Regions from separate parts of the Homo sapiens genome. Here region 1 is linked to region 2. The links are contacts of gene promoters, found by promoter capture Hi-C in human tissues and cell types (Jung and others, 2019). All regions are on one chromosome and are shown on one strand. Each heading gives the region's core, a stretch centred on a gene start or on the middle of the fragment in contact. The rest is flanking DNA. Distances are from core to core; before and after follow the strand shown.

Region 1 (2,700 bases), core at 159-2,658, 61 kb before region 2:
GCTGTGTGAATTAAATAATACATTGATAGGTAAATGGCTTAGGGTAATGTCTGGCCTGCACTGCCCTATCCAAGTGTTGCCCATTTTATTTTACTTTATTTATTTTTTAGAGACAGGGGCCCGCTCTGTCACCTGGTCTCGAGTGCAGTGGTGTGATCATAGCTTGCTGCAGCCTGCACCTCCTAGGCTCAAGTGATCCTCCCGCCTTGGCCTCCAGAGTAGCTAGGACCATAGGCATGCACCACCATGCCCGGCTAATTTTTAAATTTTTTTGTAGAGATGAGTTCTTGCTATGTTGCCCAGGCTGATCTCAAACTCCTGAGCACAAGCCATCTTCCCACCTCGGCTCCCCAAAGCTCTGAGGTTACAGGCGCCTGGCCTGGCCATTTCGGTATACTGTCTCTTCGCCCTGCCAGAGATGCAGAGACAGGGTCCAAAAGCCTAGAGGAGGCTGAGATTTAAAAAAAAGCTGGTCGGGCGTGGTGGTTCACACCTGCAATACCAGCACTTTAGGAGGCTGAGGAGGGTGGATCACTTGAGGCCAGGAATTTGAGACCAGTCTGGCCAACATGGTGAAAACTCATCTCTACTGAAAATACAAAAATTAGGATGGGCGCAGTGGCTCATGCCTGTAATCCCAGCACTTTGGGAGGCCCAGGTGGGCAGATCACCTGAGGTCAGGAGTTCTAGACTAGCGTGGCCAACGTGGTGAAACCCCATCTCTACTAAAAATGCAAAAATTAGCTGGGCGTGGTGGCAGGTGCCTGTAATCCCAGGTACTCGGGAGGCTGAGGTAAGAGAATTGCTTGAACCTGGGAGGCAGAGGTTGTAGTGAGCCGAGATCGTGCCACTGCACTCCAGCCTGGGTGACAGTGAGACTCTGTCTCCAAAAGAAAAAAAAAAAAAAGGAAAAAAAAAAAGCAAATCAAGGCCGAGCGAGTAACTGAGTACTGTGGTTCAAAGGTCCAGCTGGAAAGGCCCCCTGTTCCTTTTCCTGTAATCACCATTAGATGATTGAATGACTGGAAGTGTGATAAAGGCAGAAAATCTCAAAGCCGTTTCTTTTTTTTATACCCTTTCCACCTCATTCTCTTGGAAAACATGGAAAAAAATCACAAAAACAAAACTCCAGGAAGAATAGCAGCTCATGCTTATGATGTGTGTCCCCCACCCAGACTCACATCTTCTGTTGCTTTCTGGACCTGGGTATCCACCTCTGAACTTCTCAACACGGTCTGACTCTCCTCTTCTTCCCAGCTCTCCCTTCCCACCGCCTTCTCCCCTGACCATCGTGGAGCATCCAACAAGCCTCCCCACATCCTCCTGGCCGCCCTCCAAGCTGTTAGAATAGTGACTCAGGGCCCGAGCCCACCACTTCCCCATGGCCACCTCCCCTGGCCACTCCACATGCTCCCCATCCACGCCCTCCTCAGTCTCTGCCTCCACCCACTTTGGGGTTTTGGTTGGTGATTTTGTGCCTGGATTGCTTTGGCCTCCTTCTCCAGACCCCACTCCAAGCCCCACTTCGTCAAGGGCACTTTCCTGACCGCCGACTCTGGCCAACTATTCCTTGGTGGCTCACGCATCATGAAGACAGAGGCTTTGGCTGTTTTGTTCCTTACTTCTGCACCAGTGTGTATACGGAAGCTCTTGAGGTTATCTCTCTCTCTCTCTTTTTTTTTTATTAATTTGAGACAGAGTCTTGCTGTCACCCAGGATGCAGTGCAGTGGTGCAATCTCAGCTTACTGCAACCTGCCCTTGCTGGTTTCAGCAATTCGCCTGCCTTAGCCTCCTGAGTAGCTGGGATTACAGGTGTGCGCCACCATTCCTAGCTAATTTTTATTTGTAGTTTTGGAGACCCTCTCTCCAAGAAACAAACAAACAAACAAAAGCTCACTTGCAAGAGCTGCTTGCCTTGGCCCCTGCTTGAAGTGTATATTCAGGGCAACTTCAATCTATGCTCCCAGGTGGTCATCCTCAAGCTTTGGGCTTGATTAAACCCTACACTTAATCATATTTTCTTTTCTTTTTTTTTTTTTTTTTGAGATGGAGTCTCGCTCTGTCGCCCAGGCTGGAGTGCAGTGATGCGATCTCGGCTCACTGCAAGCTCCGCCTCCTGGGTTCATGCCATTCTCCTGCCTCAGCCTCCCAAGTAGCTGGGACTACAGGCACCCGCCACCACGCCCGGCTAATTTTTTTGTATTTTTAGTAGAGACAGGGTTTCACCGTGTTAGCCAGGATGGTCTCAATCTCCTGACCTCGTGATCCGCCTGCCTCGGCCTCCCAAAGTGCTGGGATTACAGGCGTGAGCCACTGCGCCTGGCCCTTAATCATATTTTCTGAGTCTCATTATTTATTTATTTATTTTGAGACAGAGTTTTGCTCTTGTTGCCTCTCAGCCTCCCAAAGTGCTGGGATTACAGGTGTGAGCCACCGTGCCCAGCCCTGAAGTTATCTCTGGATGAGAACAAATGATTGCACAAGAAGAGAGGCGTTTGTGAGGGTGGGGAGGAGAAGAGCTGTCCTTTGTATTATGGAAAACGGCTGTGGTTTCATGTGTTACTGGAAAGGGAAGTGTTTACTCAAGGATAGCACAGGGTGACCTTCTCAGACGCTCTGGGCTGAGAAGGGGGAAGAAAAGGCATCCAGAGTGACGTGGCTTCTGGGAAGTTGCCTAGGGAAGGTGGGCTCCCAGGGGA
Region 2 (2,700 bases), core at 151-2,650:
CTGGGGTGTGGGCTGCGGCTGGGCCCGGAGCTTAGGCGGGATGGATGTGTGGGGGCGGTGAGGGGGGACAGGGCTGGGCAGGTTTCAGGAATGTGGGAGGGACAGGCTGGCTGAGACCTGCCCGGCCTGGAGCCAGAGCCCCCAGCCGCCTCTTGGCCCCCCTCAGTTTGATACAACAGCAAACGGGATAAGTCGAGTCATCTTGCAAAAGGATAAGGTTGAGGCCCAGGATCTTGGGAAGCTGGGCACCTGGACTCCTGGGATCAGAGGGAAGAGGAGGCTGGGGCCTGGTGGAGTAGTTATTGTAGAAAAACCACCACCCTCCCTCACCCTCTGGGCTGGCATCCTGGCATCAGCTCTCAGTGCTTCTTAGAAACTCCCTTCCCTTCTCTGCTCAATCTGGCCCAGCCCTACCCCTGGGGACCCACTGTTGACCATGAGTGTGCCAGGGGCCTGGATTCCCAAGCGCTCACCTCTGGCCCCAGCCTGTCCCCAGGGAGGGGTGACGGGGTCCAGGCTGGTGCCTAAGGCTGGGTCTGATCTGCAGACAAGTGGAGGCAGAGAGTTCCTCTCTCTTCCCCAATCTCTCTCATCTCTCTGTCCCTCTGTCCCCAGCACCCCCACCCCCACCCCCCAGCCCCCGGCCTCCTCTCCTTCTATCCTCATGCAGGTGTGTAAATGTAGCTGAGGCCCCAGGAAGGGGGCCTGTCACTTGGAAACACTTTGTTCCACTGTCACTGCCCGGGGCTGGTGCTCCAGCCCTTTCCTGAGGGAGGCGGGTTCTTTATACTGGACTCTGGAAACTCCTAAATACATGTGGATCGCTGGTGTGGGGACACATGGTCCTCGCTTCTCTAAGGGGTCCCTGGACCTCTCAAAACTTGAGGACCTTTGAGGGAGAGAGCCCTGGGGTTTTGATCCTCTGTGCCCTGGGGGAAGCTATTCTAGCCACTGGAGGCCTGGACTCCTGGGTCTGAGGAAAGAGGGGCTGGGGGCCCAGATTCCAGGGTCTGAGGGAGGAGGCAGGTGGGACCCAGATTCCAGGGTGCTGAGTGGGAAGGGGGCTGACTTCTCTGGTTGTCTCTGATCCACCGCCTGGGTATCCCCAGCTCTCCTGCCTGGCTGTCCCCAGATCTCTCTCACTGGAAGGCGTACCTTCCAACACTCCCATATCCCTCCTCCTTGGGGTCCCCACATTTTGCTTCCTGGGGTCAGGGTAAAGCCCTTTCTCCTCGCTTTCCCGGGGTCCCCAGGGGCCTCTCCCCAGTCCCACCTTGCCCTCAGCCCGAGCCATACCTGGGTGCGCCGCCAGCAGGACTGCGAGCAACAGCAGCCGCGGGGCCCCGCGCGCCTGGGCCGGTGCGTCCGGGGGCTCCATGTTCACGGCGGCGGCGGAGACTGAGCCCGGGCTGCAGCTCGGCCGCTGCGGGGCTGGGAGCCAGAGGCCCCGCCCCCGGCAGCCCCGCCCCGCCCCGCCCTCCAGGCCCCCCTCGTCCCCCGATGCCCGGGCGCGGGGCCAGGACCTCCCACTGCCCGGAGCGGACCTCCCAGTGCACGGGGCCAGGCTCGGGGCTCGTCCGCCCCCAAGCCTAGAGCTGTCCGGGCTTACTGACCAGCGCCTGCAGCGGGGGGCCTGATCGACCAGCGTAGCCAGTGACCCGAGCTGGGATCTCACCAGGCAATCGCGGACCTTCTCCTCGTTATTCTGACCAGGGGCCTTGGGGACTCGTCCCCACTGTGACCAGCAGCCTGGGCTGGCATCGTCGATTTTAACCAGAGGACCCCACTGCAACCTGTGGCCTGCGATGGCCTCTCCCAGTGTAACTAATGGCCCCAAGCGTGCCGTCCGAGTGGCCTGCACTGGCCTCTCCCAGTCCAACCAGTGACCCCCGCAGCCTGACCAGTGGCCCCCAGCAGCTGCTCCCAGTATGCCCGGAGATGTTTTCCCCTGTGGTCAGTGCTCTGGGCTGCTTTCCTCGTCTGACCAGTAGCCTGGAATCAACCGGTTTAATCTCTTATTTTCAATGGTCTTCAAATCCAGGTCCTCCTAGGCCGCTTCGATGATGGGGCTGGGGGTGGGGTACGGGGTGCCCTCTCTGCTTGCTCACCCATGGAAGGCCCTCCCACTCTTCCCCCTATCCAGGGAATCCCAGGAATGCCACCCTCCCTTCCTCCTTCCCGCTCTCTCCTTCATTCCCTCCCAACCTTGTGGGGAAGGGAGGAGTCAGACTGGCCAGAGCAGGTGAGGAGGGCAGGGGAAGAGGCCAGGGCACCTGCGGGAAGGGGGAGGAGTCCAGCCACTGCTAGGAAGCGTGGGTCACAGGTCCGACTGCCCAAGGCCCCTACAGGCCAGGTCAGACTGGGACAAAATCCCCCACTAGATGTCACTAGTTGCCCAGGACAGTGGTCAGAACGTGGGAGGGTGGGGGGTCGCTGGCCACACTGGGAGAGGTTACCCAAGCTTCTGATCAGCCTGGGGGTTGAGGTAGCCCTGGAGCTGGGCTTTGCCTGCTCAGACATACAGAGAAGGCTTGGATTACAGGTCAGCCTGGGAGTTATTAGACTGGTCAAGGTTACTTTATCCATTGGTCATACAGGAGACCAACGTTTTTTTTGTTTGTTTGTTTTGTTTTTGACAGGGTCTCGCTCTGTTGCCCAGCCGGGAATGCAGTGGGCGCAATCATAGCTCATTCAAACCTC

Evidence for each region. Contacts are between HindIII fragments. The study calls those that stand out against the background at their distance.
Region 1: a contact is called between a fragment that was not itself captured here and the fragment with the promoter of BCAM in region 2, in 1 of the 25 tissues and cell types used here (spleen).

Annotation. Positions count from the first base shown.
Region 1 is chr19:44,868,937-44,871,636 of GRCh38, reverse strand. All of the region lies in intron 2 of NECTIN2 (nectin cell adhesion molecule 2), which reads right to left. Among named protein-coding and RNA genes, the nearest start is that of TOMM40, 21 kb to the left of the region's middle. The HindIII fragment of the contact is 9,277 bases long and covers 1-2,700 here.
Region 2 is chr19:44,807,803-44,810,502 of GRCh38, reverse strand. It overlaps BCAM (basal cell adhesion molecule (Lutheran blood group)), which reads right to left and starts at 1,400. Exons shown (of 15, transcript NM_005581.5): 1 at 1,297-1,400. The coding sequence starts at 1,378. The HindIII fragment of the contact is 22,699 bases long and covers 1-2,700 here.